Linked DNA regions of Homo sapiens: region 1 is linked to region 2. Evidence: promoter capture Hi-C in 16 types of primary human blood cells and fetal thymus (Javierre and others, 2016). All regions are on one chromosome and are shown on one strand. Each heading gives the region's core, a stretch centred on a gene start or on the middle of the fragment in contact. The rest is flanking DNA. Distances are from core to core; before and after follow the strand shown. Region 1 overlaps OGFOD3 (2-oxoglutarate and iron dependent oxygenase domain containing 3). Region 2 holds the start of DCXR (dicarbonyl and L-xylulose reductase).

What was found. Contacts are between HindIII fragments. The CHiCAGO score rates a contact against its expected background, and 5 or more counts as called.
Region 1: a contact is called between a fragment that was not itself captured here and the fragment with the promoter of DCXR in region 2, in 2 of 17 cell types (non-activated CD4 T cells and total CD8 T cells). The highest score is 7.3, in non-activated CD4 T cells.

The regions. Positions count from the first base shown.
Region 1 is chr17:82,405,607-82,411,490 of GRCh38, forward strand. It overlaps OGFOD3 (2-oxoglutarate and iron dependent oxygenase domain containing 3), which reads right to left. Exons shown (of 9, transcript NM_024648.3): 3 at 5,849-5,884; 4 at 3,762-3,804; 5 at 812-876. Among named protein-coding and RNA genes, the nearest start is that of HEXD, 9.8 kb to the right of the region's middle. The HindIII fragment of the contact is 3,878 bases long and covers 578-4,455 here.
Region 2 is chr17:82,036,346-82,038,946 of GRCh38, forward strand. It overlaps DCXR (dicarbonyl and L-xylulose reductase), which reads right to left and starts at 1,352. Exons shown (of 8, transcript NM_016286.4): 1 at 1,286-1,352; 2 at 1,105-1,202; 3 at 514-668; 4 at 376-418; 5 at 199-298; 6 at 39-103. The coding sequence starts at 1,337. It overlaps DCXR-DT (DCXR divergent transcript), which reads left to right and starts at 1,573. Exons shown (of 2, transcript NR_159948.1): 1 at 1,573-1,923. RefSeq lists a silencer at 743-1,572. The HindIII fragment of the contact is 4,930 bases long and covers 1-2,601 here.

The DNA of each region.
Region 1 (5,884 bases), core at 1,267-3,766, 370 kb after region 2:
GAATTCGAGACCATCCTGGCCAACATGGCACAACCCCATCTCTACTAAAAATACAAAAATTAGCTGGGCATGGTGGTGCGTGCCTGTAACCCCAGCTACTCAGGAGGCCGAGGCAGGTGGATCACTTGAGGTCAGGAATTCGAGACCATCCTGGCCAACATGGCACAACCCCATCTCTACTAAAAATACAAAAATTAGCTGGGCGTGGTGGTGCGTGCCTGTAATCCCAGCTACTCAGGAGGCTGAGATGGGAAAATTGCTTGAACCCAGGAGGCAGAGTCAAATGAGTCGAAATTGCGCCACTGCACTCCAGCCTAGGCGACAGAGCAAGATTCCATCTCAAAATAATAATAATAATAATAAAAACAAGGAGCCAGCCGGGAGCAAGACCCAGGGCTAATGCATGAGGCTGACACGGATCCACGCAGGGAGGGTCTCTTTGCTCTCCCGGCCCCTCATGGAGCGTCAAAGGCCCCGTTGGATTCTTGGAAGCTGCTCCTGGGAGCCTCCCATCTCTGCTGCCTCTTGCTCCCATCCCTTCTGTCCCTGGGCCCACAAAAACACCAGATTCCCCTAAAGCTTCATGAACAAGCCCCCTGCCCACAGGCTGTGGAGAGTCCACACCTCCCAGCTCTTGCGTCCCAAAGAACCAGGAAGGACCCGGCCAACATCACAGCCACTGAGGCCCTGAGGCTGCACCGAGCCGGATCCTCCCTCACATGTCCACGTGTCCACATGTCCATGGCTAAGAGGCACGGAGCCGCTCACTCGGCTTTCAGAGCCAGCACTGAGGTCATGCTGCAGCACTCACCTGTACAGGTTCACAAAGTGCTTCCCGACAGACAGGGCCCCTGAGTGCAAGTCCAGAATGGATGCCTGGAAAAGACGTTGTGGAGTAAAGCGTGCAGCCGCAGCAATGGCAATGGCTGTTAAAAGTCATGGATGGTAAATGCGAGTTTCCAAGGTCTGGCCAGCACACACCTCAGGTGTTTTTTTGTTTTTGTTTTTGTTTTTTGTAAAAAGGATCTTATTCTGTTGCCCAGGCTAGGGCGCAGTGGCACAATCTCAGCTCATTGCAGCCTCAATATTCCAGGCTCCAGGCCAAACAATCCTCCCACCCTCTGCCTCCCAAGTAAAGGCGCTCGCCACCACACCTGGCTAATTTTTCTATTTTTTGTAGAGATGTGGTCTCACTATATTACCTAGGCTGGTCTCGAACTCCGGGGCTCAAGTGATCCTCCCACCTCAGCCTCCCAAAGTACTGGGATTACAGGCATTAGCCACTGCACCCAGCCTCAACCCAGGACTTTCTTAAAATCCTCCCAGACCGGCCAGACGTGGTGGCTCACACCTGCAATCCCAGCACTTTGGGAGGCTGAGACAGGTGGATTGCTTGAGGCCAGGAGTTCAAAACCAGCCTGGCTAACATGGTGAAACCCCATGTCTACTAAAAATACAAAATTAGCTGGGCATGGTGGCGAGCTGTAATCCCAGCTGTAGCTGGGACACCTACAGAGATAGCCTCCCAAGGAGCTGTAATCCCAGCTACTTGGGAGGCTGAGGCAGGAGAATCACTTGAATCAGGGAGGCGGAGGTTGCAGCGAGCCGAGATCGTGCCATTGCACTCCAGCCTGGGCTACAAGAGCGAAACTCCATCTCAAAAAAAAAAAAAAATCTTCCTGGACCAAACACTTTTGTTCCCTGTGACCTAAAGAATGGTGGCACGTGTGGGCTATTTTTAGTCTGGAGCCATCTCCGTGCAGCTCCGTGCCAGTCACAGTCATGTGTCCCTGTGGGCAAGTGTTGACTTCTCTCGAGTAAATGCCTCACAGCGGTGCTCCCACCTTGGCCTCCTGGGCGGCTGGCACCACAGTGCGCGCCACGCCAAGCCTGAGTCATCACTTTGTAAGCCACTGCTGAAGTGTTTCCTGCCCGACCACCCACCTCTCAGTCCTTCCCTACGTCCTCAGAGGAAGAGGCTTCCAGCCCACGTTAGTCATCCCACCTGTGACCCCAGAGGAGCCCCACTGCTGCCCCTTCCTCATCGCCACAGCCACTGGCCCTGCGGCACTAACCTAGCTTGGGCCCGCTGAACAGTAACTGAACCCAAAGCAGCGGCCCAGCCAGCTCCATGCAGGACAACTTCCCATGTGAACGTGGAGGAGCTGTGAAACAGAAACCTACTCACTCACAGATCTTTAACAAATAGCCCCCGAACTGAACCAAACCAAACTGAAATAAAGGGAGGAACTTAGGCCGGGCACGGTGGTTCACACCTGTAATCCCAGCACTTTGGGGGGTCAAGGCAGGTGGGTCACCTGAGCTCTGGAGTTCAAGACCAGCCTGGCCAACATGGTGAAACCTCATCTCTATTTAAAATGCAAAAATTAGCCGGGCATCATGGCACATGCCTGTAGTCCCAGCTACTCAGGAGGCTAAGGCAGAAGAATGGCTTGAACCCAGGAGTTGGAGGTTGCAGTGAGTGGAGATCGCCCCATTGCACTCCAGCCTGGGCAACAGAGCGAGACTCTGTCTCAAAAAAAGAAGAAAAAAAGGAACTTAATTTTCAGAACTCAAGAGAAAAGAGTTTGCAGAAAAAAGTCACACAGACCATCACAGAAATACTTTGAAATTCTCAAAGAGTCTATAAATTAATTTTCTAGAAGTTTCAAATATGCAGAAAGACTCAAGTCTATTCAGTGATTATAATTCAAAGCGATCACCAAATAAACAGAGAGAAACAGATCTTCAGACAATTCCACACACCGAGCAAGAAAACAACCCTGAGGAAACCGCATGGGAATTGGAGCTAACACCAGCTGCACCAGACTGACTCCCAGCCACTGCCCAACAGGAGGGCGAGGCCACAGCCGGCGGTGGCTCCATGATCCCTGCGGCTGTGGTAACACAAACTGGGGCTTTAAAACAACACAAGTTTATTCTCTCACAGTTCTAGAGCCCAGGAGTCTAAAATCGAGGTGTGGGAGGGGCCCTGCTCCCTCCCAGGGCTCCAGGGGAGGTCCTGCCCGCCTCTTCCATGGCCGCACTGCTCCCATCTCTGCCTCCATCATCACAGGACCTTTTCCTCCTCCCTCTCAAATCTCCCCCTGCCTCTGTCTCCTATAGGCACTTGCCATTGGATTTAGGACCCTAAATCTGGGATGATGTCATCTTGAGATCCTTAAGTTAATTACATCTGCAAAGGTCCCTTTTCCAAATCAGATCATGTCCACGGGCTCCAGGTGAACACATTATCCGAGGCCACTAGCTGACCCCCTGCAGCCTCACATGGGACGACAGCCCCACAGGGCGTCCATGGAGGCGTCCAGCTAGGAAGTTGCAGGATGCGTTGCAGCGTGTCTGTCCCACGGAGGCCCTGCTGTTTCCCGGCAGCTCCACGGGCTCTCCTGTGTCCAGCATGCGCAGCCGTCTCCTCGCTGGGCTCCCACCCCGCTCCCTTGCCGGCTCCCTGCTTCCGACCCCCTCTATCCCCCAGTGTGAACTGGAGCCAGGCAGGCCGTGACATGCCATGAATAGATGGCCACGCACATCTAAGGACACACTCTTCCCAACGAGGGGACGCCGCACGGGTTTCAGTCAGGCGCAGCTGCTGCGGCTGGTGCTGAGAAACACCACGGCAGGCCCCACCCACATTTGGGGGCACGCAGGGAACCCTGCATGTCTGTGCCTTCCCCTTCCCATCCAAGTGAGAGCAAAGTTAACGGGTAAAAAAAGGGGGGCAGGGACTACATTCAACTCACCCCTCCGTCAGATCCTCCCAGGGAGAGCCCCTTTTCAGCTACGCTGCAGGGAGAAAATAATTCAGAATTTCGTTGCTAGAATTGTCTATAATGTATAATCTAGGCAAACGTCAATCAGCAAAATTAATGCAACATTAGTGGGTCCTGCGTGTTTAATGTTTATGATGTAAACAAATGTTTAGACCAAAGGACTCAACTTTCAAAGTTCAGTGCGTAAGCGACAATACTGCCATCGTTGTCTTGTCAATATTTGACTCAGCTTAGAAACGACTGGGCTTCAGCACCTTGGGAGGCCAAGGCGGGTGGATCACGAGGTCAGGAGTTCCAGACCAGCCTGGCCAACATGGTGAAACCTCGTCTCAACTAAAAATACAAAAATTAGCCAGCTGTGATGGCAGGTGCCTGTAATCCCAGCTACTCTGGAGGCTGAGCCAGGAGAATCGCTTGAACCCAGAAGGCAGAGGTTGCAGTGAGCCGAGATCGCGCCACTGCACTCCAGCCTGGACAACAAAGCAAGACTCTGTCAAGAAAGAAAGAAAAAGAGAGAGAGAGAGAGAGAGAGAAAGGGAGGGCTGGGCTTAATCTCTCATCTTCAATATCGAAAGCCACCTGGGCCAAGCTCAGGAGCCTGGGGAGCATCTAGGGGAGGGCCCACTGCTCCCCATCTCTCCTGGAACCCCAGGCAGGTGGGGGAAGCTTTGAGATTCACCAGCTCAGGAGATAGGGGCCCTGACCATGGTGGGAGAAAGACACCCACACGCCAGCTGTGCTGGACCACAGAGGACCACCCTGAGCTGCCACAGGTGCTGGGAGCTGCCTGTGGACACCAAGTGGGGACACGCCGGTGCCTCAGTCAGACAGCAGTAACCCCACTGGAGCTAGGCAGCAGTAACCCTGCGTGGAGCTAGGCAGCATCCTCGGGGGCAGGCTCCCTGGGGAGAATCTCAGGGCAGGGCACGTGGCCCAGGGCTGCACACCATTCCACATGCTTATCGTCTCAACAAGTGGTTGGAAAATCAAAACTTTCTTTTAAGATCTCAGTAAGAAAAGTCCAGCACCAGTAGCCTCTGAGTGGCATCCTGTGCTGCCACAAGTCATAGCCAGGTGGGCTGACGGGCTCCCTGGAGGCAGTTTCAGAGCAGACACTGAGCGGTCATTGAGCAGTGTCCCGGAGGCTCCGTGGGGAGCATGGGGCACTCAGCAGCAGCCCCCAGAGGCGGCCACAACCCCTGCAGAGGAACCTGGGCCTCTGGGTACTCTCCCAGCTACTGCTTCGCTGAGGGCCATGGTCTCCTCTCCTGAAATCGGAAAATCTGAGCTTGGCCCTTGAAAGCACATAATTCTTTTTTTTTTTTTTTTTTTTTTTTTTGAGATGGAGTCTCACTCTGTCACCCAGGCTGGAATGCAATGGCTCAATCTCGGCTCACTGCAATCCCTGCCTCCCAGGTTCAAGCAATTCTCCTGTCTCAGCCTCCTGAGTAGCTGGGATTACAGGAGTGTGCCATCACACTCGGCTAATTTTTCATATTTTAGTAGAGACAGGGGTTTCACCATGTTGCCCAGGCTGGTGTCGATCTCCTGAGCTCAGGCAATCCACCCGCCTTGGCCTCCCCAAGTGCTAGGATTACAGGCATGAGCCACCGCACCCAGCCTGGAAATTCTTATAAAATTATAATAAAATCTTTTTTTTTTTTTTGGAGATAGAATCTCGCTCTGTCGCCCAGGATGGAGTGCAGTGGTGCAGTCTTGGCTCACTGCAACCTCTGCCTCCCGGGTTCCAGCGATTCTCCTGCCTCAGCCTCCTGAGTAGCTGGGACTACAGGCACATGCCACCACACCCAGCTAATTTATTGTATTTTAGTAGAGACAGGGTTTCACCATGTTGCCCAGGCTGGTCTCGAACTCCTGAACTCAGGCAATCTGCCCGCCTCAGCCTCCCCAAGTGCTGGGATTACAGGCGTGAGCCACCACGCCTGGCAATAAAATCCTTAAAACCACTTTATTACTAACAATGCTCTGCTTCCCGCCCTAGCCCCACTCCGCGTGTGTTTGTTTGAATCCCACCGTGCTCAGGGACAGGCGGTTACCTGCGAATCCGCTCCGCTTCCTCCCTGGTGATGACG
Region 2 (2,601 bases), core at 102-2,601:
GTGTCCTAGGTTGGGGGAGGTACCCCAGCCCTGCTCACCTTGTGGGGCCCGAGCTCTAGGGCCATCACCTTGGTCAGCATGTCCAGGGCACCCTTGGTGGAGCCTACGAAGAGGAACCCAAGCTGGCTGGGGCTGGGGTCGGTGATGAGGGCGAGGCTGGGGCTGGGGTGGGGCTGAGGGCACAGCTGGGGCACTCACAGTAGACGCTATGGTTAGTTACTGCCCGCTGGGAGCACTGGCTGGAGACATTCACGATGGCCCCTGGGACTCCCCGGGCTATTAAGCCCCTGGCCACAATCTGGAATCGCAGCGAGACCGTGAGGCAGAGCTGGCATCACTCACGAGAATTCCCGTCCAGCCCACAGGGCAGCTCACCTGCGACACCTGGATGACCGCACGCAGGTTCACCTCAAAGGATCTAGAGGCCGAGGGACAGACCCTGGTCAGAGATTAGGGCTGCTGCGTCCTCCAGGACAGCCCCTCCCTGAGGTTCCTCCGCCCTCACAGGCTCACCTGTCAAAGGCCTCCTTGGTGACCTCCAGGAAGGGCTGCAGCAGGGCGACAGCGGCGTTGTTCACCAGCAGGTCCACGGGGCCCACGCTGCCCAGCGCCCGCTCGGTGGCCTCCCAGTCACCCAGGTCCACGCACACGGGTTCTATCCCCGGGCACTGTGTGTATCAGGGGGCAGTTACCAGAGGCTCTGTGCCCAGCAAGCGGCACAGCTGGGGACTGGGGCTGGTGACCTTTCAGCCGGACAAGTAAAGGAGTTAGGAGTTCCGAAGGTGTCGGGACTGTGGGGCCAGCAGCCGGGCGCTACCTCCGGCCGGTTCACTTCCTCCCTGCGCCCGAGCGACTCCTGCCCGGGGCCTGCTTCGCAGCCATTTCGGCCTCTTTCTGAGCCCGGGGGCCCCGGCGGCTCTGCCGACCACCCGGCCGCCCACGCAGGCCACCAGCCCCGAGAGAGGGTGCGCGGGCGCCCAGGCCGCGGTGAGAAGCGCAGCGCCCGCGAGGGGAGGCGGAGTCGCGCACAGAGGTACCGCCCCCGCTCGCTGCCGCCCCCTCCTGGCTCGCCGCCTCGCAGCGCTGGGACCCGGCGGGACCTACCTCGCGGACAAGGCTGTCAAGATCCGCCTGAGTCCGGCTCACAGCCACCACCCGCGCGCCCGTCGCGTGCAGCGCCTGGACCGTGCCGCGCCCTATACCTGCCGGGAGCGGGCTCAGTGAAGGCGTCCCCTGCCCGCCTCTGCCCGCCGCCGGCCTTTGCCCACCTTTCCCCGCCGCCCACCTTTGCCTGCCCCGGTGACCAGCACCCGGCGGCCCGCGAGGAACAGCTCCATGTCGGCGCAGTCTCCGCCCTCCGCACTGGGGCTGCGGAACTTGAAGCTCTGGCCACGATGGGCGGGGCGCGGCGGGGCCAATGGCAGGGCGGCCTTCAGATAGGCGGTGGGGACATTCAAATAGCTGCTCCCCGCTGCAGTGATTGGCCGAAAGGAGTGGGCGCGCCGGGGCGGGGCGGGGTCTCCGCTGCCTCAGGGACGGGTCTTTTGAAGTGCCTGGTGTGACCCATCTTCCGTGCTTGAAATCGACGTAGTGGACCCTGGCTAGCATATTTTTCCCTGCCAAGATTATTGCAAAAAGACGATGTGGTGGTTAATATCGGAAAGAATGTGTGGTTAATATCAGGAAGAACACGTGAAATGGAGAATTTCAGGGCTAACATTTCTTGTTTTGTTTCTGAAAACATCGGCATGTCCTAAAAAGTGTCGCCTGTGCCCATCATCTCTCAGGCTTGGGAGCAGGACACCGCCGGCTCACTTTAAAGCCAAGGGAAAGAATTTGGACAACCAACTACGTCTGGAGAAGACACCAATGTCAGCAGAGCTCCGCTTTCATCTGTGGGCGAAGGATTACCTAGATGCCAAGGCAAGAGACTGAAGACACAAACTGTTTCAGTATAACAAAGAAAATAGGCCGGGAGCGGTGGCTCACGCCTGTAATCCCAGCACTTTGGGAGGCCGAGGCGGGTGGATCACGAGGTCAGGAGATCGAGACCATCCTGGCTAACACGGTGAAACCCCATCTCTACTAAAAATACAAAAAATTAGCCGGGCGCGGTGGCGGGCACCTGTAGTCCCAGCTACTCAGGAGGCTGAGGCAGGAGAATGGCGCGAACCCAGGAGGCGGAGCTTGCAGTGAGCCGAGATTGCGCCACTGCACTCCAGCCTGGGCGACAGAGCAAGACTCCATCTTTAAAAAAAAAACAGTTAAAATAAAAATAGTCATAATACAAATTAGATATAAAAATGATCATGATCATGGATAATTATCAATCATTAGTATAAACATTATTAATCATTAGCTTTTAATATTACTCTTTGTTGCATTACTAATATAACCTAGGGACATTGTGAGAAGTGACCTAGAAGGCAAGAGGTGAGCCCTCTGTCACTCCCGCATAAGGGCTGCTTGAGGGCTCCTTGGTCAAGCAGTAATGCCGTTGTCTGGGAAGCCACCCGTTACTTAGAAGACTGCGAAGGGGAGTCTCCTTTCCTTGGAGGCGTCAGGGAACACTCTGCTCCACCAGCTTCTTGTGGGAGGCTG